Linked DNA regions of Homo sapiens: all the other regions are linked to region 1. The links are contacts of gene promoters, found by promoter capture Hi-C in blood cells and fetal thymus (Javierre and others, 2016). All regions are on one chromosome and are shown on one strand. Each heading gives the region's core, a stretch centred on a gene start or on the middle of the fragment in contact. The rest is flanking DNA. Distances are from core to core; before and after follow the strand shown.

What was found. The method cuts DNA at HindIII sites, captures the fragments that hold promoters and counts their contacts. A CHiCAGO score of 5 or more calls a contact.
Region 2: a contact is called between a fragment that was not itself captured here and the fragment with the promoter of RAI14 in region 1, in 3 of 17 cell types (endothelial precursors, naive B cells and total B cells). The highest score is 10.4, in endothelial precursors.
Region 3: a contact is called between a fragment that was not itself captured here and the fragment with the promoter of RAI14 in region 1, in 4 of 17 cell types (naive B cells, total B cells, endothelial precursors and 1 more). The highest score is 7.9, in naive B cells.
Region 4: a fragment that was not itself captured here is called in contact with the fragment with the promoter of RAI14 in region 1 in 3 of 17 cell types (total B cells, naive B cells and endothelial precursors); the score reaches 6.7 in total B cells.
Region 5: a contact is called between a fragment that was not itself captured here and the fragment with the promoter of RAI14 in region 1, in 3 of 17 cell types (naive B cells, total B cells and endothelial precursors). The highest score is 8.4, in naive B cells.
Region 6: a contact is called between a fragment that was not itself captured here and the fragment with the promoter of RAI14 in region 1, in 3 of 17 cell types (endothelial precursors, M0 macrophages and M1 macrophages). The highest score is 18.1, in endothelial precursors.
Region 7: a contact is called between a fragment that was not itself captured here and the fragment with the promoter of RAI14 in region 1, in 3 of 17 cell types (naive B cells, total B cells and endothelial precursors). The highest score is 5.3, in naive B cells.

Annotation. Positions count from the first base shown.
Region 1 is chr5:34,654,181-34,657,965 of GRCh38, forward strand. RAI14 (retinoic acid induced 14) reads left to right here and starts at 2,148. Exons shown (of 18, transcript NM_015577.3): 1 at 2,148-2,295. RAI14-DT (RAI14 divergent transcript) reads right to left here and starts at 1,993. Exons shown (of 3, transcript NR_183264.1): 1 at 1,813-1,993. RefSeq lists a silencer at 2,106-2,155. The HindIII fragment of the contact is 8,769 bases long and covers 1,174-3,785 here.
Region 2 is chr5:34,894,862-34,898,646 of GRCh38, forward strand. TTC23L (tetratricopeptide repeat domain 23 like) reads left to right here. Exons shown (of 11, transcript NM_144725.4): 10 at 1,909-2,014. The coding sequence ends at 1,917. Among named protein-coding and RNA genes, the nearest start is that of RAD1, 19 kb to the right of the region's middle. The HindIII fragment of the contact is 6,562 bases long and covers 1-3,785 here.
Region 3 is chr5:34,876,946-34,880,730 of GRCh38, forward strand. TTC23L (tetratricopeptide repeat domain 23 like) reads left to right here. Exons shown (of 11, transcript NM_144725.4): 9 at 3,236-3,363. Among named protein-coding and RNA genes, the nearest start is that of RAD1, 37 kb to the right of the region's middle. The HindIII fragment of the contact is 1,870 bases long and covers 811-2,680 here.
Region 4 is chr5:34,851,634-34,855,418 of GRCh38, forward strand. All of the region lies in intron 4 of TTC23L (tetratricopeptide repeat domain 23 like), which reads left to right. All of the region lies in intron 1 of LOC124900959 (a long non-coding RNA gene), which reads right to left. Among named protein-coding and RNA genes, the nearest start is that of TTC23L-AS1, 14 kb to the left of the region's middle. The HindIII fragment of the contact is 1,914 bases long and covers 828-2,741 here.
Region 5 is chr5:34,832,794-34,836,578 of GRCh38, forward strand. No RefSeq gene overlaps it. Among named protein-coding and RNA genes, the nearest start is that of TTC23L, 4.5 kb to the right of the region's middle. The HindIII fragment of the contact is 4,892 bases long and covers 1-3,785 here.
Region 6 is chr5:34,488,350-34,492,134 of GRCh38, forward strand. No RefSeq gene overlaps it. Among named protein-coding and RNA genes, the nearest start is that of RAI14-DT, 170 kb to the right of the region's middle. RefSeq lists an enhancer at 2,565-3,140. The HindIII fragment of the contact is 2,461 bases long and covers 800-3,260 here.
Region 7 is chr5:34,813,424-34,817,208 of GRCh38, forward strand. RAI14 (retinoic acid induced 14) reads left to right here. Exons shown (of 18, transcript NM_015577.3): 11 at 151-237; 12 at 1,160-1,246. Among named protein-coding and RNA genes, the nearest start is that of TTC23L, 24 kb to the right of the region's middle. The HindIII fragment of the contact is 5,167 bases long and covers 1-3,785 here.

The DNA of each region.
Region 1 (3,785 bases), core at 898-3,397:
TTTTATTTTTGCTTCTTTAACTCAACCCCTTTCACCTGGGCCTAGTTCTCATCAAAGGGTGGTATTCAATGTATCCAATGAACCCAATTAGCATTTCTAAAACGCCTGGGCAACACAACCAATAAGAAGATGCTATTGAACCTCTTACTTCCCCACTAATCCCCCTGCAGTTGGCAGAACTTAGCTGCCATGCTCAGTCTACAGACTACAAAGTTGCTTTGAGTTTCAAAAGTGGGGATCTGGAAAAGGATCTTGGCACAGCCCAAAAAAATAAGAATACTTTCACAACGATCCCTCATCCAGAGTTAGACTTGCTGACTTTAGAGGGTGGGAGTGTAAACTAAGGAGAATCATATACAAACCACCTATGGGAATCTAAGAGGTGATAGGCTGGTAGGCTCTTTGGAGGTGGCTGGGACAGAGAAAAAAGAAGAGGGACAGGACCTCTGTGAATCAAAGTCAGATGTGCCTGCCTTAGACAATCATTGTTTAATGTTGTCTAATATTTTAACTCCTTCAAAATGTCAACTGTTCCTACAGAATACACACATGTCAAATTTCCAAGACAGCATCATCTACCTGTACCATGCTCCAAATCCCATCCTCCCAGCTGCCCCTACTTGAACCAGACTGACCTGCAAAAATAGAGCAGAAAACTCACAGGCAGTAATGTTCCCCTTAAATACCCTACAATATGTCATTAACAAGAATCACGATGAAACACTATTGTAGAAATTGCCAGCATTAAACCAAAAGAATGTTGGTCAGTTCATGTTTCTTTTACAGTGTGACTTTGTTTGAGAGGGATAAAGGACAGGAAGAGGAGTGTACATCTTGCTTTAGCTGTTCCTCACTTGGCTAAGGAACTTTTGCTGTAGGAAGTGAAGACCCTGCACCTAGTTACAAGGCTTTTGATGCTTGTTTGTCAAGTTCAACTGTTAAAGGGGAGATAGGCTCTTCCCTAGTAGGGAGAGGGAGGAAGGAAAGGGGGATGGGGCGGGGGGAGGGAACAGGTAATATCTGCCATATAAATATTAGTATGTAGCTGACACGTTATAAACTGAGCTGTTAGGGTGAATTTCAATTTTGTTGGAATCGACCTTTTTTCCCTCTTAAGTTCAATTGACTTACAGTAGATCCCAGAAAGAACTCAATACGTTATTTATTCTAGAAAGCTTTCTTCCCTGAGCAAAGGAGGCAGAGCTAACGAGGAGAAGGGAGGAGCTTAGGTGAACAGAACTGAAGTCACAGCTGGTTAGCATGACTAGAATGCATGGAAAAGCCAGCCCAAATTAGATGAGTGGGTAGATAGAGAGCTTTGAAATCCTTGGAATTAATGGTGGAGTCCATCGTAATTGAAAGGTCGGGCCTTAGTGGGCTGGGATAGGGAGAGAAGCTGTCGGGGACCTGGGGCAGTGAGCCTGTACCCCGTGGCTTCTCACACACTATTTTGAAGGCGTTCCCATGCGCAATCTCGCCTGTCAGTTCAGGCTGTAGGTTTCTCCTTTCTAACTCCTGAGCAGAACAACACTGAACGGTGGTAGTCTTGCCTTGCCACCCAATGAGTGCTAGAAAACAGTCACTTCAACCAATTGGTTCAGTCCGGAGAACGTGAGCACATTCTACTTTACTTTCTGTTCAATGATTTTGGAAAACAACCTTTTAGATTCTGGTCAGAAGGGGCTTGGATCCGTGACTTTGAAACACTCGCCACTACCACAAACGACTTTGGAAGTTAATCAGAAATAAACAGTATCTGGGATCTCATCCGTCCTAAACCCAGGGGTCAGAGCGTGGGGGGCTTCCACTAACTTCAGGTTAAGAGGATGAAACAGATCCGCGGAGAAGGGTCCCACGATCCCTGGAGACTAAAAGCAAGCCACGAACAGCCGGGACGCGCGGGCCGGGGAGATGCGCCGGGGGCTGGAGGGCGGAGAGCACCCCCCGCAGGTCCCGGCCAGAGCCCGGGGCCGGGTCACCTGACTCGCGGAATTTGGGGCCGCGAGGGGTGGAATGGGAGGGGAATGGTTAGCGCCTCCCTTCCCGCTCCCACTGGATCCAGGTCGGCGGGGGCCGGCGCCCGGCGGCCACGTGGTGGTGCTGCCGCTGCCCCCGCCCCGCCGGCCTAGCCCGGGAGCTCGGCGCCCACTGACCCCCGCAGCGGGGGAGGAGGAGGGACTGCGGCGCAGGAAGCCGAGCAGGAAGCGAGCCCGGCGGCCGCGTTTTCCTGGGGAAGCGGCGGGCGGGGTGGAGCAGCCAGCTGGGTCCGGGGAGCGCCGCCGCCGCCTCGATGGGGTGAGTGCGCGGCACGGAGTTGGGAGGCTCCCGGCGCGGGGTCCCGGGCTCGTGTCCCCGCCTTTGTGTCTGGAGCTCGGGCGCGGGAGGCGCTGGGGACGGCGCCCGGGCGGAGCGGCTGAGCGGGCTGCAGCCGGGGTCCCGCCACCTCTCCCTGGTCCACCGCCGGCAGCCCACTGTCTGCGGAGAGCAGATCTGGGGACAAGAGGAAGGAGAGGAAGGTGGAGATGAGGGTAGAGCGGGAAGACCCGGCCAAGTTAGGAGAAGGGTTCTTCCCGGGTCCTCCGCGACTCGCAGGCCGGCTGGGGCGGGGCGCGGGGCAGGGGCCGCGGCGGAGGGAGCGCGGGTGGGAATGAATGAGCAGACCCGGAGATGCACCCTGGAGTCTGCGCCGGGTCCCACCTGTTTCGCCCCGCGCGGCGCCTCGCTGCCCCCGCGTCGGTGCTGCTGAGCCCAATCCGCCTCCCGGCTGAACTTGGAGGAGGTGGGGAGGGAGGTGCGAGCGGGAGACTCCGGGTGGCTCCCAGGACGCGGGGTCCGCTATTGTTCCTCCTCTGACTCCAGGGAGCCCCTCGGCCGGCCCAAGGGCGGGGGCGAGACCCCTCTGGGCCTGCCCCTGCCCCCTACCTTGTTTTCCCCGCCGCAGCTCGGGGAGAACGGATGCTGGAGTTGGGGCAGACTCGGGGCCGCCGGGACTTCGGGAGTAAGGAGGACGTGGAGCCACCAGAAAGGCGCCCGCCATCTCCCGCGACCCCTGCCTGGTGGGGGGTGGGGGGTGGGGTGTCGTCCTCAACCACCTTCGCTGCCTTCTTGGGCAGGTTGGTGTCGGTTTAGTTTCTGCGGTTTGCAGGGTTGACATCCTAACTCCTTTGAGTTTCGCATCCCCCTTTTGTGGAGGGGGCTCAGAGCCTGGAGAAGCAACAGACGGGGAATTAAGGCAGATGCAGCCCAGCACAGCGTGGAGGGGTCCGAAGTGGCCTCACGGGGGCCTGAGCATGGCTGTCTTTCCAGGCTCCTCTTTATTTGCCAGGAGCCCAGCTAAGCCCAACTTTACTCCCAGAAATGTTGAGGGGAATCTGCGGACTCGAGGCCCCTCGCCTCGGGACCAGCGGCTTCTCTTCGCCGCAGCTCACGCATGATCGGGGTGGGATTCCGTCTTCCTTCCGGGAGAGGAGAATGCCCAGCTGCCTGGGATGGGGAAACGTTGCCGGATCTCTGGGGAATGTGGTCTCAAGGCTGCAGGGGCCTGGCAGAGAGGAACTGTCCATCACTAGGACATAGCCGAAGCTCGCCTTAGCGAAGAGAGTCTCACCTCCTCGGGCTTTGCACAGAGTTGGAGAAGAGGTCGGGAATCACAGGGAGGCTGGATTTTGGCTGCTCTGTCCCCAGCCTGCAGGTCCCTGTTCGCCCTGTGGCTCGGAATTTTATTACTGATGTATATAATCTGATAATCTTTTCTTAATGATGCCTAACAAGTGTGATTTTTTTCC
Region 2 (3,785 bases), core at 851-3,350, 240 kb after region 1:
ATTAGAGATGATGAGAGTGTTAATGATGATGATGATGATGATGATGATGATGATGTTAATGGTGATGATGAAGATGACAATGATTGCAGATGGAAAGGGAAGGATGACTAATCAGAAGCCATTATATTGGCAAATAGAAAATAATCACTGACATCACTGATATTAGCATGAGCTGTATTTGTAGAGAAGACCTTTGAGATTACTGTTTGTCCAGTACCTGATTAAATACCTCCCATAATCAGGAATTTACTCATTATCTCTCAAAATGGCCCCTTCCTTCCATTACTGGACAGTTCTGATTGTTAGAAGAATGTAGTAGTTAAGGTCATAGACTACATTTAAAGTTAGACATATCTGTGTTTGAATCCAGGCTCTACCACTTTCTATGTGCCATTAGGCAAGTTATCTTAAGCCCCACTTTTCTCTAATGAGGATTAGAATAGTATCTATAATGTAGAAACATAATGAAGAGTAAATGAGATTATTTACATAAAGCACTTAGCACAGTATCTGGTATACTGTTAAGTGCTCAATAAATATCAGCCATTTTAACAACTCTACCTAGTCATCAAACTTACTGGATGTATGAAAGCATGAAGTTATCAACTTTATCTTTCTATCTGTCAGATGTCTCTGGAACAGCTGCATACCGAAAAGTTATTTTGATATACCTTTTGATGGGTATAAAGCTGTAGAAACCAACAGAAGGAGCAGGGAGAACCATCCTTTTCTCCTCATAAGAGGGGAGTAAGGAAGGTGCCTCAATGCCTATTAAACTATTAGTGATATTCAGTCCTCTTGGTCATATGAACAAAATGGAACAGCCTCTTTTGGGCTGAGGGGCTGGAGAAGGAAAGTAGGGTGGAGATGGGGATTTGGGAGGTGATTATTTCCAGAGAGAAGTGAGCAAGGAAAAAGAAAGGAGGTGATATGCTGCAGTACATTTTGTATCAGCCAGACCAGTCTTGGGCAAGACCTTAGTGATGAAATGTATGTTCCATAAGCTGGGTTGTTTCCAGGCTGCTGCATTCATCTTCTTTTCCTATTATTTATTAGTAAACATTCCAACACTCCATCTACAAAATTAAGGAGGAAATATCTGGCCAAACCTTGGTATGAGTGAGTGAGGAGCACAATCTGCTCCACCAGAGCCAGGTAGCCAAACAAGGGGCAGCAGCTTTTCCAAATCAGGATTCTAGGACTAGCTGGAGGCATTGGGGCAGGTAGAGAAGTGAAAACTCAGAAGCCTTTAGTTCCCTGCTTGAGGGTCTCTTTTATGGGGAACAAGGGCTGCTAAGCCACAGTGAGCCAGCTCAGTGTACCTTATCTTTAGCAGAGCAGTGGGGAGCTCTGCAATCCCCAGCTACTCTGCCACGCCCACAGAAATGGTCTGATAGGAGAGGATAGCATGGAATAGGGCAGGCAGAGCTTGAGGTTCCAGAGCAAAAGGCTGGGTTTGGTGGAGCTTGATTATTAGTGTTGTCTGCCCTGGGGTACGGGTGGGGGAACAGCTGGACTTCTACCACATACTTGCTGTTCAGGTATAGAGAAAGAGCACTGTACTCTGAGTCAAGGCACCTTGTGTGTGAATCCCAAAAACCATGCGACCTTAAGTCACTTAAACATTGAGTCTCAGTTTCTTCATCTTCATTCATTCCTTTAACAAACATTTTTTGAGCACCTACTAAGTGCCAGGTGCAGTTAGAGCTGCAGGTGGTAATAAAGATAAATAAAACATGGTCATTAATCTTAAGGGGACAACATTCTAGTGTAAGAGAAAACATGAAGAAATAATAACATGAAATTTAAGTTCTGGAATAGCATTCTCAGTGCAATGAAAGGAGAGACAATCTATGAGAATTGGAAAACACTTCATAGAGAGGGTGACATTTGAGCCATTTCTTAAAGGACAAGTAGCAGTTCATCCAGATGGAGAAGAGAAGCCATTCCTGGAAGAAGGAACTCTACATACAAAGGCACAGAAGCATGACAGAGGGCAGTGTATGGAGGAATGGTAAGTACTTTACAGCTGTTGTACAGGGCAGCATGTCCTGAAAGGGGCTGCAAGAAATGCTGATTCCAAGGGATGTGTGCCAGTTCTCTGGGGGAGGAAGAAAGGCTCTGTAGCAGAAAGACAAAAATCATTTAAGGAAAAAAAAAAACAAAAAAAACAGGTTTAAACAAAGTGACACAGGTTACTTTTCTGAAGGGCTTCTCAGGACTTTTAATATACAAAACCTTCGGCTGGGTGCTGTAGCTCATGCTGTAATCCTAGCACTTTCAGAGGCTGAGGCAGGTGGATTGTCTGAGCTCAGGAGTTCGAGACCAGCCTGGGAAACACAGTGAAACCCAGTCTCTACTAAAATACAAAAAATTAGCCGGGCGTGGTAGCATGCGCCTGTAGTCCCAGTTACTCGGGAGGCTGAGGCAGGAGAATTGCTTGACCTGGGAGGTGGAGGTTGCAGTGAGCCGAGATTGTGCCACTGCACTACAGCCTGGGCAACAGAGCAAGACTGTCTCCTAAAGAAAAATAAAAAAAAAATTAAACATTAAAAAAAATACATATATATACAAAACCTTCCTTATTGGCATGTTGGGAACAAATCAGGTTTTTAACATTTTTATTTTTATATTTTAAATTTGTAGTGACGAGGTCTCACTATGTTGCCCAGGCTGGCCTCCAACTCCTTGGCTCAAGTGATCCTCCCGCCTCAGCCTCTCAAAGTCCTGGGATTACAGGCATGAACACACCATACCTGGCTGCAAATCAGTTTTTTAGAAACCATTGTATTTTACATACCTAAAGTCTTTTTGAAATGATCAGTGATTTAAATTTTGGCAAATAAAACCTTGCCCTGTCTTTAGAATCAAAGTAGAGAAACTAAGGTTTGGTTTTGTTGAAAGCAAAGGGTGTAGTGTATACTTGCCCTGAGGGTATACATGAATACTTTTGCAGTTTGGTAAGGAATTTTGGCCCCACTTTAGGACATAAAGTCTTTATGAACTATGATTATCTCATCAACTATTTAATCTGATCATAGAAATATGACTTCAGTGCATCCCTATGAATTAATCTTTTTGATTCATGGTGGTTAAGAGCTGTAGTTCTGGAGACAGGCAAGCCTGAGTTCAAACCCCAGGACTACCACTTTCTAGCTATGGGCAATCCTGGTTTCTTCATCTATAAAATGGGGATGAAGTATAGTACCTATCTCAGTGTTGTTGTGAGAATAAATGAGATAATGCATTATATGTAAAGTGCTTAGCAGAGTGCCTGGCCCCATAGTAATCATGTACTAAGTAACAGCTATTTTTAGTTTTACTGAAAGCTGGTCTTTGACTTTATTACCTTCTACTGGCACCACTGTTGCACGAAGCAAACGGAGATAGGGGCTGAATATTTTGAAAAGCTACTACCAAGCTGATGTGGAAAATATTTTGCTGGTTAACATCTCGAAAAAGATATAGACTTATCAGGTTCTGGAAACACTGTTAGTCTCATAGACAAGCAGTCTGACACAGTCACCTAAACTCAAAGATAATATATACACTATGGAAATCAGTTGTCCTTTCAGGTTTCAGACAAGGGGAATCCTGCCACCTTGTGGTGCGACAGAAGTAGGCCCGAGGCTGATTCCCACTTACTATCCCTAGCAGAGATGCAGCCCTCTTACAGTTCTTTGCCCACCTCTGAATTTATGAGACCCCTGGGCAACTAACTTAATCTGTGCCTATTTCTTCAGCTAATTTGGAATCTCATTATCTCCTGGTTTACTGCAAAGGAA
Region 3 (3,785 bases), core at 496-2,995, 220 kb after region 1:
CTGCACATTCTGCACATGTACCCCAGAACTTAAAGTATAATAAAAAAAAATTATCAAGATTTAAAAAAAAACAAAACTGCAGATCAATACATCTCATGAACATAGAGGCAAAAATCCTTAACAAAACATCAGCAAGTTGAATCCATCAATGTACAAAAAGAATTATACACTACAGCCAAATGGGATTTATCGCAGGTATGCAAGGCCAGTCCAGTATTTGAGACTCAATCAATGCATCACACCAACAGGCTAAAGAAGAAAAATCACATAATCATATCAATAGATGCAGAAAGAGCATTTGGGAGAATCCAACACTCATTTATGATTAAAAACTCTCAGCAAACTAGGAATACAGGGGGATTTCCTCAGCCTGATAAGTCACATCTACAAAAAACCTGCAGCTAACACCATTGTTCTTTTTTTTTTTTTTTTTTGGTTCTCCTTTGACTAACACTATTATTCTTTTTTCTTTCTTTCTTTCTTTTTTCTTTTTTTGAGACAGAGTTTCGCTTTTGTTGCTCAGGCTGGAGTACAACGGTGTGATCTCAGCTCACTGCAATCTCTGCCTTCTGGGCTCAAGTGATTCTCCTGCCTCAGCCTCCTGAGTAGCTGGGATTACAGGCACCTGCCACCATGCCTGGCTAATTTTTGTATTTTTAGTAGAGACGGGGTTTCACCATGTTGGCCAGGCTGGTCTCGAACTCCTGACTTCAGGTGATCCACCCACCTCGGCCTCCCAAAGTGCTGGGATAACAGGTGTGATCCACTGTGCCCAGCCAACACCATTATTCTTAATGGTGAAAAACTAGAAGCTTTTCTAAGACTGGGAACAAGACAGTTTCCTCTCACCACTCCTTTTCAGCATCATAATGGAAGACCTAGCTAATGGAATAAGAGAAGAAAAGGAAATAAAAACTATACTATAATATTTGTGAAGGAAGAAATATAACTTTTTATTTGCAGATGACATCGTCTGATTAGAAAATTTGAAAGAATCAACAAAAATATCTGGAATTAATAAGTGATTATAGAAAAGATTCAGGATACAAGTTTAATATGCAGAAGTCAATACTTTCCTATATACCAGCAATGAATAAGTAAAATTTAAAATTTAAAACAATACCATTTACATTAGCACTCCAAGAAAATTTAAAACAATACCATTTACATTAGCACTCCAAGAAATGAAATAATTAGGTATAAATCTAGCAAAGTATTTGTGAAATATATGTGAGAAAAACAACAAAACTCTGATGCAAGAAATCAAAGAACTAGCCAGGTATTGTGGTGTGTTCCTGTAGTCCTAGCTACTTGGGAGGCTGAGTTAGGAGAATTGCTTGAGATCAGGAGTTTGAGACCAGCCTGGGCAACACAGTGAGACCCATCTCAAAAAGAAAAAAATAGAAATCAAAGAACTAAAATAAACTAAGATATCTTTAATATCTATTCCATGTTCATGGATAAGAAGACTCAATAAAAAAATATAAAGTTCTTCCAACTTGATTTATAGATTCAACTCAATTCCAATAATAATCTCAGCAAGTTATTTTTTGGATATTAGCAAATTGATTCTGAAGTTTACATGGAGAGGCCAGAATAACCAACAACATGGAAGAACAAAGTTGGAGGACTAACACTACCCAACTTCAAGACTTACTAAAAAACCACAGCAATGAAGACAGTATAGATGAGAAATCATCTTACTGTAGTCACAGTGGCTATTATGAAAAAGACAAAAAAACAAAAACAGATGTTGGTGAGGGTGCAGAGAAAAGGGAACTCTCATACACTGTTGGTGTGAATGTAAATCAGTACAACCTCTATGGAAAACAGTACGGAGATTTCTCAAATAACTAAAAATAGAATGACCATTTGATCCAGGAATCCCACTATTAGGCATCTACCCAAAAGAAAAGGAAGGTATATATCAAAAAGATTCCTGCACTTGTATGTTTATCGTAGCACTATTCACAATAGTAAAGATAACAGAATCAGTCTAAGTATTCAGCAGTGGATGATTGGATAAAGAAAATGTGGTACATATACACAATAGAATACTATTCAGTCATAAAAAAGAATGAAATCATGTCTTTTGCAGCAAAATGGATGGAACTGAAAGTCATTATCTTAAGTGAAACAAGCCAGACACAGAAAGTCAAGTATCAAGGTTTCACTCATAAATGGGTGCTAACAAATGTGTGCACATGGGCTTAGTGCAGTGTTAGATAATGGAGACTCATAAGGGTGTGATGTGGGGTGGATGATGAGAAATTAATGAGTACAATGTATGTTATTTGGGTTATGGATACTCTAAAAGCTGTGACTACTATGCAATTTATACATGTAACAGAATTGCACTTGTACTCCATAAGTTTACACACAAGAAAAGTATGGTATTGGCAAAATTTTCCCATTGTTTCTGTGTATTTTCTAGATTGATATAAACGTATTATGTTTGGAAAGACACAACATTAAAATTAAATTTTCAAGCCATAACAACTATATATTTAAAATACTTATAAAATCACAACTTACTCCCTCCCAGCACCCCCCAAACAGGAACCTTAGTAAACATTACTATCAGAGTTTTATTTAGCTAAAAATATAGTCTTGCAGTATACCTGGGAGTTTAATATGGTAGTTATTTGTAGTATTAGCATAATAAGATTATTCAGACAGAAGCTTTCTTTTTTGCTACAAAAAATTCCATGGATTTTATAAGGAGAATAAAAACCAAAACATCATCTGATGTCATTAAATCACATTTTAGGGCTCGGTGCGGTGGCTCATGCCTGTGATCCCAGCACTTTGGGAGGCCGAGGTGGGCGGATCACGAGGTCAAGAGATTGAGACCGTCCTGGCCAACATGGTGAAACCCCATCTCTACTAAAAATACAAAAATTAGCCGGGCATGGTGGCGCACACGTGTAGTTCCAGCTACTCGGGTGGCTGAGACAGGAGAATCACTTGAACCCAGGAGGCAGAGGTTGCAGTGAGCCGAGGTTGCACCGCTGCACCCCAGCCTGGCAACAGAGTGATACTCTATCTCAAAAAACAAAAGAAAACAACAACAGCAAAAAAACCACACATCTTAGACTTTTAAAGAGTCCTTATGAGACCTGGCTTGAGAACAAGCATGGACTTTAAGCATGAAAATGTCAATTGAGCCAAAGCTGATATTAGACATTTGTAAAGGTTAGCAGCTTGCCTTAAATAATTGTTTCAATTTTTCCAGATGCTGTTGAGATATATTTCATAAGAAGTATCAATGCATATCGAGCAACATTGGGCTCAGAGGATTTTGAAACACTGAGCACCACTGAAGAATTTTGCAAATGGCTTGTCCAAAATGGAGAAAAACAGGTAAATATGATCAATGCATAAACAGAATTGCTAGTTTGTTTATTAGATCACAATAGCATTTTTCATCTTACAATTCAGATACTGGAGATCAGATAGGTCCCAGATAAAACTAGGCAAGAACCACATTGTTTCATTCTTTGCTAGCATTAACCGAATTATTTTTTTTTCAGATTGGTTTCATTCTTTTGATGAAACTGAGCAACTCTGTCCGACAAGATTTAGTTTGTACTTGGAAACTGCAGAGTAGGCTCAAAGTATTTTAGAGGGACTCGATATTGATGGCAAAAGAAAATTGGCAGCCATATGTTTGCTTCTAACGGTTCCCTCTCTGACAAACTTTTTTTTTTTTTTTGAGACAGGGTCTCTGTCACCCAGGCTGTAGTGCAGTGGGGCGATCTCGGCTCACTGCAACCTCCGCCTCT
Region 4 (3,785 bases), core at 535-3,034, 200 kb after region 1:
CCTCTATGAAATTTCAGAGTGACCAGGAAGGATCTTCCCCTAGTGGCGTTCCGTGCTTCCTTACTTGGAATCTCTCTATTCCCATCAGACTGATTTTCTCAAAAACTTACTGCCTTCATGATAAGAGTCAAATTTAGGGATTTACTCCTTCAGTACTTATGGAGTTCTTGTTATAAGCCTGGTGGCACTTGCAGTCAGTGCTGGGGATACATAAATGAATATTGGTGGTCCCTATGCTCTAGGAGCACACAGGGGTCTTATGATAGGTACCATTCTAGAGGTAGGAACAAAATTCTGGGGAGGCAGTTCAGTGGTATTGCCATTGAGGAAAGTCAGGGAAGGCTGCCGAGAGAAAGTGATATTTGTCCTGTCTTTGAAGAATGAGAATAGGTTTATCAAGTAGATTTTTTTACTTTTTATATTTTTATTTTTGTAGAGATAAGGTCTTTCTACGTTGCCCAGGCCGATCTCAAATTCCTGGCCTCAAGTGATCCTCCCACCTCAGCCTCCCAAAGTGCTGGGATTACAGGCGTGAGCCATGGCACCTGGCCCCCAAGTAGATTTTGAGGGGAGAAGTAGAGAGTACAAAGTTGGTCCTTTATATATGTTGATCTAAGGCATAGGAAGTGAGAGGAGGGCACTCTGTATAAAACTCGTTACACAGAATATTGTAGCTTCTCTGTAGACCCAGGGGGTTAAGGTAGGACGGAAGACACCTTAGGACAGACAGCTCATGTTTGGAAATGGGACTGAAAAGGTAATTTGGGCCCAGATATCAGGGAGTGTGGAGAGTTATTAAAAGGTTTGAAGTGAGGTGGTAATAATCAAGCTTGTGTTATAAAATGAGAGACTCCAGGATGGGTTGGACTGGGTAGAGAAAGAAGAGGCAAAGACCAGTTAGGCCGTTATCCTGCCCAGATGAGAGTCGATGAGGGCATTGGGTATGGCAGTTGGAATGAAGAAAGATAACCTAAAATGTAGAATGGGTGACATTTAGTGCCCCATTCAGTATGGAGTGGGAAGGACAGGGAAGAATTGAAGTTGAAGTAGGCATGACCTGGACAATTAGCTTAAATCGAGAATGAAAGGGAAAGACCAAGTGGTGGGGTGTATTAGTCTGTTTTCATGCTGCTAATAAAGACATACCCAAGACTGGGTAATTTATAAAGAAAAAGAGGTTTATGGATTCACAGTTTCATGTGGCTTGTGAGGCCTCACAATCATGATGGAAGGCCAAGGAGGAGCAAAGGCACATCTAACGTGGCGGCTGGCAAGAGATCATGCAGAGGAACTGCCGTTTATAAAACCATCAGATCTCATGAGATGTATTCACTATCACCAGAACAGCATGGGAAAACCCTGCCCCTGTGATTGAATTACCTCCCACTGGGACCCTCCCATGACACGTGGGGATTATGGGAGCCACAATTCCTGGTGAGATTTGGGTGAGGACACAACTAAACCATATCATGGAGGAAGGGGGAAGAAGCTACTGAGTTTGGTTTCTGAAAGCAGGTCTAGAGCTCAGGAAAGATGTTAGTCTGGGAGAAATGAGCACATAGGAGCAAGTTGAGGCCATAGGAGTGGATGAGCTTGATCAGAAGTAGTGTGTAGTGGCTGGGTGTGGTGACTCATGCATGTAATCCCAGCACTTTGGGAGGCTGAGGTGAGTGGATCACTTGAGGTCAGGAGCTGGAGACCAGCTTGGTCAACATGGTGAAACCCCGTCTCTACTAAAAATACAAAAATTAGCCAAGTGTAGTGGTGTGTGCCTGTAATCCTAGCTACTCGGGAGGCTGAGGCAGGAGAATTGCTTGAACCAGGAGGTGGAGGTGGCAGTGAGCTGAGATCGCACCACTGCACTCCAGCCTGGGCGACAGAGCGAGACTCTGTAGTAGTGTGTAGAAAGAGAGGGGAAGAGAATAGAGGACTGAAGACTGGAGAGCAAGAGCTTTAAGAATGGGTAGGGTAAAGGGGGGCCAGCAAAGAAAATAGAAGACTCAGGAGGACCCGTGTCATCAAAGCCAAGGGAGGAGAGAGGGTTTTGAAAAGAAGTACAACAGTGGTTTCAACAGTTCAGATGGTAGAGGAAGGTCAAATAAGGTAATGGCTGAGGAGAGACCCATGGATTTGGCGGTTGGTAGGTCATTGCAACTTGGTTTGGTAGAGACAAGTACACTCCTTGGGCCCTGGGAGAGCCCAGATTCACAGAGACTAGCTAAGGGTTTTTCACTGGAATTCAAACTTGAGGTGATGAACTTGAACTGAAGAGGAAGGCATTTGAGAGGGAGATTTCTCTGAAACTAGGCAAGGCCAGATGCTGCCCTCTCTGTCTTGCCTTGAAGATGACTAGGGTAGGTCTAGAAGGAGGTTGGCCTAGATCTTCTGAAATCAATCCCTTCCATAATGAGCCACAAACTGCCTTTGAGTTTTACTTTTCCAATTAGATTCCAAGTTAAGTCAAGATAAGTGAACAGGTTATACCACAAAACATGGTGATAAATCCTTTTCTCCCTAACTGACAGTTTTTCCTGCTGCATGAATAGAGAACTACGTTGGGGCAATAAGTTGGAGGAGACACAAGTTTTCCTGTACGAGAGACTTTTTTGTTTGTTTTTCCTAGATGGGAAAGGCAGCTTGCTGGTCAGATGAAGTGTCCACATGGTATAGTGGAGCCTAGACTTGAACCCAGATTTTCTGATACCAGCCTAGATTTTTTTTTAGAATAGGTTGTGACTGTAAGCTTTCTTTGAGAATAGCCCAGTGCCTCTTTGCTTTCTTCACTTAAGCTTTTATTTCAGTTTCTTCACTTCAGCTTTTTTAGTGTCTGGTCCATGGAATAAGTAAGGCTTTGAAAAATGGCAGATCTTCAAGAGAGATGAAGTGCTTGCTCAGCTCCACTCAGTGTTGTTGTCATTCATCCTCTAACTGCTTTAAAGTGGACAGAATATATAAGCTGGCCTCCTGTGTAGGCGGATGTGTGTGTCTGTGTGCGTTCATGCCTCACTGCACCCATTCATGTTTTATAGTCATCAGCCCTGCTTTGCTCATTTCACTTTGAGCCTTTTCCAGCAGCCAAAAGGCTAATTTCTCTCAATAAACAGTCATTCAGTGAGTAGTGAGAAACTTGTATATGTGAAATGCCATGATGAACACTTTGGGAAATGTAACATAAAGAAGCCCTCAAAGGTTTTACAACTTAGTGTGGAAGGTGAACTACCTGGGGACATAACTATGAGGGAAGGCAGTGTAAGGTAAATGCCATGTAATTGATTTAAATAATGGGCTTCGGGAAGGTTGAGTGAAATCATTTCTGGCAGAGATGATAGATTCAAGGGGGAGGTGGATTCAAGGGTTGTAAAGAAGGAGTAGGGTTTGGGTAGGTGGAAGAAGGGGTGGGCATTTCTGATGAAGAGGAAGGTGTGGGCCAAGGCATAAGGAAGGAAAGTGCCACGTCTGTGGAGACAGCAGTAAGCAGCCTTGTCTGGCTAAGGTTAGGACTGGTAAGATGAACCTGGAAAGGAGAAGGGTACATTGGGCAGGCTAAGGTTAGGACTGGTAAGATGAACCTGGAAAGGAGAAGGGTACATTGGGCAGGCTAAGGTTAGGACTGGTAAGATAAACCTGGAAAGGAGAAGGGTACATTGGGCAGGCCATGGTGTGGTTTTAAATACAGGCTAAGGAATTTGTAATTTATTTGATAGGCAAAGAGCACTAGTGGAGATTTTCCAGCAGGATGATAAAAATATCAAAGTGTACTTTTGGCAGGGTTAATCTAGCAGTGA
Region 5 (3,785 bases), core at 686-3,185, 180 kb after region 1:
TGAGCTCTGCCCTGAGTATCAGCCGCTTTGGGGCAGTTGAATCACAGTTGCCTTTAATTCACAATTGCCTCTCATTTAATCTGCAGTCTGTTTAACTGTTTGGAAGCCTCCGCTGGATTTTTTTTCCCTCTTGCTTCTTGCTTTTTTTGAAAAAGTAATACATACATATGTAAAAAAAAAATCCAGATACATTTTCCTGCCCCATTACAAAGACAATTCAATTAATTCCTGACAAAACTCTTGTCAGGTGAATTCTGGCAAGGTTAAAATCATAATTAAAATTGTTGCAGGTTATAATCATAATCAAAATTACATGAAATAGGTACAGCTACTTAAGAAGTTAGCATTGTTTATCATACTCCAATGTAACAAGGCCATTTCCCTTCACTTACAACATGATTCCACCTCTACTTCAGTTTCATTGTGCCTTCCTACTATACCCTGAAACTTTATTTCAAAGAAAGCATGTGTGTGATACTCAACTGAACCTTTTATTTCAACTGTGGCCAACCAGACAACTCAGAAGGTGACTTCATGGGGACACTCAGCTGGAGAGGAAACTGAGATAAACCCAAACCAGTCATCTCTGATGGACAGAAACGCCTCATAAGGCAAAATTGGGATATGAAAAGAAACTCTCCTGCCTCCACAATTAGATAGCAGCTGAGATTGTAGGACAAATGAAAGGAACCACAAATAAATCTTTCTCTTACTCCCCAATCCTTAGTGCATCTACCCAGAAGCAACATCTAGTAAGTTTCTTCGGTGACCTGAGACATTCTCTGTCTATATGTACATGTAGGCATGTATTTTTCTTTCTTCTTTAAATATCTTGGATATTATTCTCTGTCAGCATACACATCTCATTCTTTTTAACTGCTGAATAAAATTGCATAGTATGGTGCTATATTTTATCTTGATAATTCCACATTATGGACATTTAATTGCTTCCAGTATTGCAGCTACAAAAATGATGCAATTGACTATCCTATGTATGTATGTATATCTTTACACGTGTAAGGATTTTTTGAATTTTCAAATTGCTCATTTTTACATTAGCTTCCATCAAGATATGGGCAGAAAAAAAATGAATAGAATATTGTTCGTATCATCACATTGAGAAAGAATGGCCTTTCCCTTCATGTTGTTTGAATAAGAGTCATTAATTTGTTTTCCTTACATACACTTTAAGACAAACTCCAAAGCCTTTAATAATTAAACCCACCCATCTTCAGATAAACACATGATACGCTGTGAGGGGAAAACACTCCCTGAACATGTTGAAGCACAACATTTTGCAATGCAGCATAACAAGAATATTGAGTGCTGACAGTAGCAGAAACATTATGCAACAAAGATTGGGGTCATTTTTTGAGCAAAGTTAAGCAGCAGACTGCAAGGCCAAGAGTGAGCTGGAAAAAGCCACAGACCAAAGAACTAGGGCTTTCACAAGAGTAGCAATTTTCTATTCACCAGATCAGGGCAGAGATTTGTCAAGCATTATGGGAGCGTGTGACATATTTGAGAAACAAAAGAACAAGGACTCAGCCATAGGAGCTGGGCAAGGGAACAATCAACATAGGTTCCAGCAGATGGAAAGGCTCCTTTGAGAAGTAAAGCCCCCACGAGGCGAGTAGGAGGAAAGCAGAGACATTCCTGCATACTTACTATAAAGCAGGCTCTAAAATGGGAAGAAACAGCATATTCAAGAACCGTAACTGGATGTACCAGATTATAAAGTGGAGGATACATAAGAGTATTAGTCCGTTTTCATGCTGCTGATAAAAACATACCCAAGACTGGGCAATTTACAAAAGAAAGGTTTCATGGACTTATAGTTCCACGTGGCTAGTGAGGCCTCTCAGTCATGGTAGAAGGCAAGGAGGAGCAAGTCACGTCTTAAATGGATGGCAGCAGGCAAAGAGAGAGCTTGTGCAGGGAAACTCCCGTTTTTAAAACCATCAGATCTTGTAAGACTTATCCACTATCACAAGAACAGCATAGGAAAGACCCACCCTCATGATTCAATTATCTCCCACCACGTTCCCCCCACAACATGTGGGAATTCAAGATGAGATTTGGGTGGGGACACAGCCAAACCATATCAGTAAGGGATGGAAAGAAGCAGGACACAGTCAAATGATGCAAGCTGCTAACAGCCAGGAGAAGAGGGCTCCTTATGTGTCACCTCCATATGTTTTTAAAACCATGCATTTAAGTTACACACTCTAGTAGGCAGAATAAGTCCTCCCAAAGACATCCATGTCCTAATCCTCAGAACCTGTGAATATGTTAGCTGTGAATCTAACCTGTGAATAAGTTACATGACAAGGAGGAATTAAGGTTGCTGATAGAATTAAGCCTGCTAATCTGCTGACCTTTAAATAAGATTATCCAGGTGGGCCCAGTATAACAAGAGGGGTCTTTTAAAAATGGAAAGAAGGGTCAGAGATTTGAAGATGCTGCATTGCTGCTGGCTTTGAAGATGAAGAGAACAAATCAAGGAATGCAGCCAGGCTCTAGAGGCTGGAAAAGGTAAGAAAAAATTTTCTCCTTGAGCTCCCAGAAGGAGCCACCCTTGCAGACAGCTTGTCTTTAGCCCAGTGACACCCATTTCAGACTTTCAACCTCCAGAATTATACAATAATAAAGTTGTGGTTTGTTAAGCCACTGAGTTTGTGGTGACATTACAGCAACAATAGGAAACTGATACACACAGGGAGAATCTCTACTAATGGAGTTCCTAAAGGTCATTTGTAGTTTATGTGTTTTTTTTGTTTTGTTTTTCTTTTTTAACACTGATATATCCCAGGCACTGTGCTGAATGCTAAAGGCTCAATGATAACAACTCCTGCTCACGAGGAGCTCATAGCTGGCCAATCAGGGCCTGCTACCTAGCAGGTATTCTGTATTCACTGAGTGGGTAGATGAATATTTAGACGGATGAATTGCCTATAAGGCCCTCCATGACCTGATGCCCCACCACTTTACTGACACAGTCTTTTGTCTCTTTCCTCCTCATTCTTACTACCCTTGGCTGTTCTTTGACCCCATTAAACTTGTTCCTGCCTCAGGGCTTTTGCACTTGCTGTTAACATCTTAGAATGTTCTTCTCCTAAATATTTGCACAATTTGTTGCACGATTTGAGGTATCTTCTCAATGTCATCTTGTCAGAGAGGCCCTGTTTAACTACACTATGTAAGATGGCACACCCCTCCCGCCATGGCCACATCACCTTCTAAATCCCTTACCTGGTTTTATTTTTCTCCATAACTGTTTATCATGTTTTCTTTTTCTTTTTTCTTTTTTTTTTTTTTTAAGATGGATTCTTGCTCTTGTCACCCAGGCTGGAGTGCAATGGAACAATCTCGGCTCACTGCAACCTCTGCCTCCCACGTTCAAGCAATTCTCCTGCCTCAGCCTCCCAAGTAGCTGAGATTACAGGCACCCGCCACCACACCCAGCTAATTTTTTACTTTTAGTAGAGATGGGGTTTTGCCATGTTGGCCAGGCTGGTCTCGAAATCCTGATCTGGTGATCCACCCGCCTTGGCCTCCCAAAGTGCTGGGATTACAGGCGTGAGCCACTGTGCCCAGCCCACTTTTTCTTAAGGTGACTCTTCTGGCTAAGGGAGTCAGTGAGTCCTGAAATCCAGCCCACTCTCTGTTCCCAAAGCTGTACTCCTTAGCAGGGGTCTGAGTCTGGCTGGAGGAAAAGGCTTTTTCCAAATTCATACACTGTCACTGCATACTCCCTAAGCCTTCTGCCTTTTTGTAACTTGCAG
Region 6 (3,785 bases), core at 780-3,279, 170 kb before region 1:
AGGAGAGATAATAGAGTCACTGAGCTACGCAGAGAAATCATAGAAAATGTGTAAGCGATCTAGTCATTCTACTTCTAGGAATTTATCATCAGAAATTGTCGGGGACATAAGCAGGTTTGAATGCTTACATTTTTGCCTCATTATTATTTATAACAAAAAAAATGAAGCCCATTTACTGCCAAACAGTAAGGGAATGTTTACATAAATTTTGATATATTAATTTAATAAAATATATTGCCACCAATAAAAATGTTGTTGACACATACATCCTCAAGACATCAGAAAATATTATAAAATACATATGCAATTTATTTAAGTTTAGAAGAAACTAAAACAAAAATCAATAATGTTTTGATTTTTGTCTTTTTATTTTTTTATTTGCCCCACCTTGGAGAAACTAATGCCTTTTTATTTTTAATAAAACATAAACTGAAGCAAATATACCAAAATGTTATCTGTGGGTTATCTCTGGATGATGGAGCTTTGGTGATGTTGTTGTCATCTTTATACCTTTCTCTATTTTTTTAACTTTATAATAAATATGTATTTCTTCTCTTATAGAAAATCTTTTTAAAAGAAAGCTTATTTCATGATCATTCACAGAACTTCACTATTGATAAATTCTTTGCATTTTTATGCTATGGGACTTTTTTTTTTTTTAAGCTGTGATAAAGCCCAGAGTTTCCTTGGCTTCTCCTACTCGTGTGCAGATAGCAGAGCCACCCCCGCCCCACCACCACCCTGTGTTACTAGACCTTCCTGTTGAGCCAGTCCTCCACCTTGGAACTGACAGCTCTGAAGCTTGATATCTTCACCCTCCTGTCCATCAACAGCTCCTCACAGTTTTGGTCATTGCTGTCCTCTACCTCGGGCTCAGCCTTGCCCATGTTCTGAGTTTATCAGGCCAGCAGCAGAAAGAACATCAGCATGTCAGCCTCAGACCTAGTGTGACCTGACATCATGTCACACGCCCATCTCCTGGGTTCTGTGTTCTGGGAAGAACCCTGGGTGTCATGGAGATTTTAAGTAAAAGGGTTTCTGTGCTTGGCAACCACAGAACTGAGCTTCTGCCTCGATTTCCCTATCATCATCACCTTACTTCCATATTAAGATTAGCCCTTGGGGCCCCAGCCTATTTGGCTGTTGTCTTGTCATCCCACCCAGGTCTTGCTAGTGATACCTTTATCCCCTCACCTTTCACGCCCTACCTGGGCTCCTCATGATCCCCCAGAGCCAATAGTGTCTGCCACCCGGGGTTTCTCCTTGTCTGTGCTCCTTGCTGGGCTGGGTGTCTGGCTTCTCTCCCTTTCCCAGTGTTTATTTTTCCCATGTGAGTGTCCTCCTCCTTTGCTGCCTGCCTGTGTCATCAAGGACTCAGGATGCCTCATGCTCCAACTAAGGCGCCCTGTGACATTGCACATGTTAAACATGTGCAAAACAGGAGGAGTTGGGGAGAAGTATTGGGGGGAGGGGATTATCTTTAAAATGTATTTTTTCAAGCCAGGTACGGTGGCTCATGCCTGTAATCCCAGCACTTTGGGAGGCTGAGGCAGGTAGATCACTTGAGGTCAGAAGTTCGAGACCAGCCTGTCCAACATGGTGAAACTCTGTCTCTACTAAAAATACAAAAATTAGCTGGGCATGATGGCGGGTGCCTGTAATCCCAGCTACTTGGGAGGCTGAGGCAGGATAATCACTTGAACTCAAGAGGCAGAGGTTGCAGTGAGCCGAGATCACACCACTGCACTCCAGCCTGGGCAACAAGAGCAAAACTCTGTCTCAAAAAAAAAAAAAATTAAAAAAGTATTTTTTATTATGAAAGTAGAAAATAAAAATTATATTTCTCTCACTGACAAATAACCTTCACTGCTTAATATCTTAGGTTTTCTTCTAGTCTTTTTGATTGCTATGTAATTTTTACAGTTGTTGAAACTACTTAAAGGACCCAGGAATGGTCTTGTCAGTCTTCTACTTTTTTCTTTCCCTTTCCTTCTCTCCCTTCTTGCCCGTCCTTTTTTGACTACTGGTACATAAGGTAAGTTGGAGTGAGGGGGAAGAGGTACAATTAATTAGCATCTAGTTATCCCATTACTAAACGTGGTTCCTTGACTGGGTTGATTTGTTTGGATGCGCAGCCTCCTTACAGGTACCAGGTACCAGGAGGAGTCACCCTCTATAGACTAGGGAACTTCACCTTCCGTGAGATTTAGTGGCTTGCTCCTCATGACACAGTTAGCGAGAGGCAAGGCTGAATTCAAGTGCAGGCTTCAAAGGCCATTTCTCTGTGTCCCTGTTGTAAGCACTGGGCCCATGGGATTTGACAACCATCAGCCTGGGCTCAGATTTCAAGTGGGGAAAAGTATCAGCAAGTGAGTGGAGCCGGAGGTGAAAGCAGCAGCAAGGAAACAGCGGCTGGCCGGGGGTGGGCAGGGGGCGGGGGTGGCAGGGGCGGGAGGGGAGGGTGGCGGGGGCAGTGGTGGCGCGGGGGGGTGTTGGCGGGGGCGGGGGGGCGGTGGTGGCTGTGGTGGGGGGGGGTTGGCCCCTCCTGGGCCCTATGCTGGGCTTTCTGGAGGAGCTCCACAGAGCCCGGGCCTATTTTCCCATTGGAGAAACCACTTTTGTGTTCTTAGACACAAACTTTGTTTTTAGTCTATTTGTCCCTTTCTGGTGGGCCATTGATCAGAGGAGCAGCCATGAGGCCCACCCAGCAAGAGCAGGCTTTGCATTTCTCTGGATTTGTATGTGTGTGTGTCTGTGTGTGTGTTTGTGTGTGTGTTTATTGTGGGGTGAGGGTTTCAATCACACACAGGATAGAAGGGAGTTCCCCAGGGCTCCCACCAAACTGCACAACCTTCACAGTAGCCAGTCCTCAGCAGCACTGGCTGTTCTTCTATCAGCTCCTCCTAGATCTTCTCCTTAGGCTTCTGAATGACTCCTCATTCATTTTCTCTGAAAAGAAGAAAAAAGTATCCTCAATTGCACTCATATTAGTGTCTGCCCTCTGGGAGTCGGCTTTTTCTAAGCTGAATGCATGCAGCAGACATGCAGAATAGACCGTGGGTGAGCCAGACGCTGGGGGGATGGCAGGGACAGCGGGAGCAGGCAGCCTGTCTCAAGATGTGGCCCTAGGCAGACTTCAGCGAGTCCTGCAGTAAACTGTTCATTTATTATCCCACAAATATTTACTCCAGAGCCACTAAGTGCTCGAGAGAGATGTGACACCATCTGCACAGCTTTCTAGTGACTGAATCCAGAGGTAAAGCTTTGAGAATCTGCGGCCCTGTGCTGCCAGGCTTAGCCCATGTGTCCCGGAAACCACAGTCTGCAGACAGGGCCAGGCAGCGACGGGGTAAATGGGGGACAAATAAAGATGGTGGAGTGCTGGTGACCTTAGTTCTGCAGCCAAATGCTTGCTCTAACTTCAAAATACCCTCCAACCCATTTGCTGCTCCATATAAACAATAGAGCTTGTCCAGAGCGCTTACAGGGCCTAAAGTCAGAAACGGCTTGAGCCAGAGGAGATTATTACGGTTAACTATTTTATCAAAAAGAGTGGAACCTGATGGAGCATCAAAATCATCGCTACCTTAAGATAATTTAAAAATGACTTTGTGCGGGAAAGGAGAGAGATGAGTTTCTTCCTAAACATGAAGATTAACGTTCTTTTACAGTTTGTAGTCTCACTTTCATGACAGACTAGTCAAAGGGAAATTGGGTAAAATCTTTTTTTTTTTTTTTTTTCTGAGACAGGGTCTTGCTCTGTCACCCAGGCTGCAGTGCAATGG
Region 7 (3,785 bases), core at 594-3,093, 160 kb after region 1:
TTTTTATGTTGGTAGCAGATTTCAGATTTTGATAAAGTAAGAAATGTATGAACTTTTGAGGTTTTTCTCATGTGTTTGATAAAGCTACTTGCCCAGACTTTACTAACCAAACTAACCCACCTCCATTCTTTGGACTGTGATAACTTTCAGCATGACCAAGTCTCTAAAATAAGCTCAGAAAGAAGTGGAACTCCAAAAAAACGCAAAGCTCCACCACCTCCTATCAGTCCTACCCAGGTAAAAACAAAAGCAAACCAACAATCAATAAACGCACCACAAGAAAGCCATAAATTTGTCATTTTGTTTAGGCCAAAAAGGAATGTTTTAGAACTGACCTTTAAGTGCATATTTAAAATTTTCCTTAGCAGTTTTAAATTACAAATTGTGGTAAGAAGGATTGATGATTAGTATGGAAATAATGTTGATTCTTATCTATTTTTAAAAAAACAGTAGAATCGAATAGCCTCTTTTTGAAAAGTCTCAAGGAAATTTCTCAAAATCTTATCACAGAAACTTTCCCTTAAGATAAGTTCAATTTATTTTTAGTTCCTTATGTTAAAAGATCTAGTAAGGACTGGGAGAATGAGTAGCCATTGAGGCAATTAGTTGAAAATGAATTTCAGTTCGTTTCTTAAAACATTGCTGCAATACATTTGCCTTTTTAATTGCTTTTAAGGTTGGCTAATATTAAAAGTAGTTTTCATTTCTGAGCTTTATAGTGACGGTTGCATAGAGGAGGAAGCTCAGTAATCTATGTAATGGCAGGTAAAAACACATCGAAATTTGTTATTTAAAAATTCATAGGCCATAAAGAGAATAATCCATATTTAAATAGTAGAGAGGAATAGCTCATCTCATAAGTATTTTTTAAATGTATGTTAGCATACTTATTAATATTCTTAACCTGCAATAGAAGTTTTATAGATTTTTAAAAAAGTGATTCTAATATAGGAGCACAGTTATATTCTGTAAACTTTCAGAAAGTATTTGAAGTAGCTGAATTGCACTGAAAATATTCTACCCGTGAATTAATTGATGCCAAGGATACTTACTGTTAGATTTCATTGCATTGGTTAAACAGGTTGATTCTTCGGCACTGGAGAAGAGGAGTTTGAAGATACATTCTTTATTAATGATTTTCATTTTGTTTCTTTTTTAGTTGAGTGATGTCTCTTCCCCAAGATCAATAACTTCGACTCCACTATCGGGAAAGGAATCGGTATTTTTTGCTGAACCACCCTTCAAGGTATTTCCTTTCTGTATTCAGTTTTGTTACTGTATTTTAAGATACATGATAGACTTGCTTTAAGTTATATAACACTGGGAAAAACAGAATATACTTCTGAATCATTGGTTCACAACCTTTTCACCATGAAGTACCCCTTGATTATTTTTTCTGGCATGGACCCCATAAAGCAAGAATGTGTACAGCTAGTTTGTATCCATAATAATTTAAAATTTTTAAAAAATCATTGAGTGAATAAATTAAATTTACAAACCAATAATTGATTTTCTTCATTTAAAAAAAAAAGAGACAAGAGGGCTGGGTGCAGTGGCTCACACCTGGAATCCCAGCACTTTGGGAGGCCAAGGTGGGCAGATCACCTGAGGTCAGGAGTTCAAGACCAGCTTGGCCAACAAGGCGAAACCCTATCTCTACTAAAAATACAAAAACTAGGCCGGGGTTGGTGGCTCACGCCTGTAATCCCAGCACTTTGGGAGGCTGAGGCAGGTGGATCACGAGGTCAAGAGATCGAGACCATCCTGGCCAACATGGTGAAACTCCGTCTCTACTAAAAGTACAAAAATTAGCTGGGCATGATGGTGCGCACCTTTAATCCCAGCTACTTAGGCGGCTGAGGCAGGAGAATCACTTACACCCAAGAGGCAGAGATTGCAGTGAGCCGAGATCGCGCCACTGCACTCTAGCTTGGCAACAGGGCGAGACTCCGTCTCAAAAAAAAAAAAAGAAAAGAAAAAAATACAAAAATTAGTTGGGCCTGGTGGCAGGCACCTGTAGTCCCAGCTACTCAGGAGGCTGAGGCAGGAGAATTACTTGAACCCAGGAGGCAGAGGTTGCAGTGAGCCAAGATCGGGCCACTGCACTCCAGCATGGGCGACAGAGCGAGTGTCTTGTGGTGGGGAGCAGGGACAAAGTTTACTTATATGGAATCTAAAAAAGTTGAACCCATAGAAGCAGAGAGTAGAATGATAATTGGGGGAGTGGTGGGAGGTATTGGGGAGATGTTGGCTAGACGGTACAACATTTCATCCAGATAAAAGGAATAAGTTCAAGAGATCCATGGTACAACATGGTGACTATAGTTAATAACAATGCATTGGATTCTGAAAATCACTCAGGGAGCAGATTTTAAGTGTTTTCATCACAAAAAATGATAAGTGTGTGAGATTAATTAGCTCCATGGCCTTTTCACATTATGTACGTATTTGCAGACATCATGATGTACATGGTAAATACATACAACTTTTATTTGTCAACTAAAAAATAAATTAATTTTTTCAAAAATAAGGTGTGGAAGTTACCAGCTTCTACCTGTTATTCTCCTCATTCTTTCCTGAATGCAGAATATTGAGGAAATGCCAAAAATTATATTTCAGGAACTTCTCTATTTATAATGAAATATTCTAGATTGGATCCTGGGACAGAAAAAGGCCATTATTCGAAAAACTGGCGCAATTTGAATAAAGTTGTAATTTAGATAGTAGTAATTTACCAATTGACAAATGTATAATGGCTACATCTGTTGTAAACATTAGAAGAAATAAGTGAAGGTTTCTATCTTGCAACTTTTTTATAAATCTTAAATTGCTCCAAATACAAAGTGCTAAAGTTTTTTTAAAAAGAGACAAAGATAAGAACTTACTAGATAAGCAGTCTTCTTACCCAATTAAGTTTATATTAATTCCAATCAAAGAGACAGAAACTTGTGTTATTCTCTGTTGTCTTACTGAGAATTGTATAGTTAATTTTTTTCCTGACTATAAAAGTAATATGTATTTATTTTACAAATGTTAGAAAATCCATTAGGTTTTATCCACCTGGTTCTGTAGATTTGTGGTTGCAAAACATTTTAAGGAAGTGGGAGGATATTTCCATTTAATATCTGTTTAATATACTGAGAAATTGTACTCAAGGGGGAAATAAAATTTATAATTGTTAACATGAAATTTCGATATTTTATATTTACTTACTTTCCCTTATTTAGAATTATTAAAGATGTTTTTTTTTAACTTGGATACACATTAATCTGAAACAGATTCTATCAACCTATCATTTCCCTCACTTTAGACTTTACTAATAAACTCTTCAGATGAATTTCTATGTAAGACAAGGCAACTATACTCTTATAGTTAGTACGATAATATCTTCTGATATGACTGTGCCTCAAAGAAGCAGTGCAATCCGAAGAATATCACAAATTATGATTTTTCAGAGGTAGAGTATAAGACTGTCATTTCTGAAAAAACAACAACAAAAAAAAACAAGATAAAAAGTGACATTTATTCCTACGTTAGCTTAGGGAGGAGACAAAAGTGATATCTAGGCCAGGCTCGGTGGCTCACAGCTCATGCCTGTAATCCCAGCACTTCGGGAGGCCAAAGCGGGTGGATCATGAGGTCAGGAGATCGAGACCGTCCTGGCTAACACAGTGAAACCCCGTCTCTACTAAAAATACAAAAAATTAGTCAGGTGTGGTGGCGGGCACCTGTAGTCCCAGCTACTGGGAAGGCTGAGGCAGGAGAATCGCTTGAACCTGGGAGGC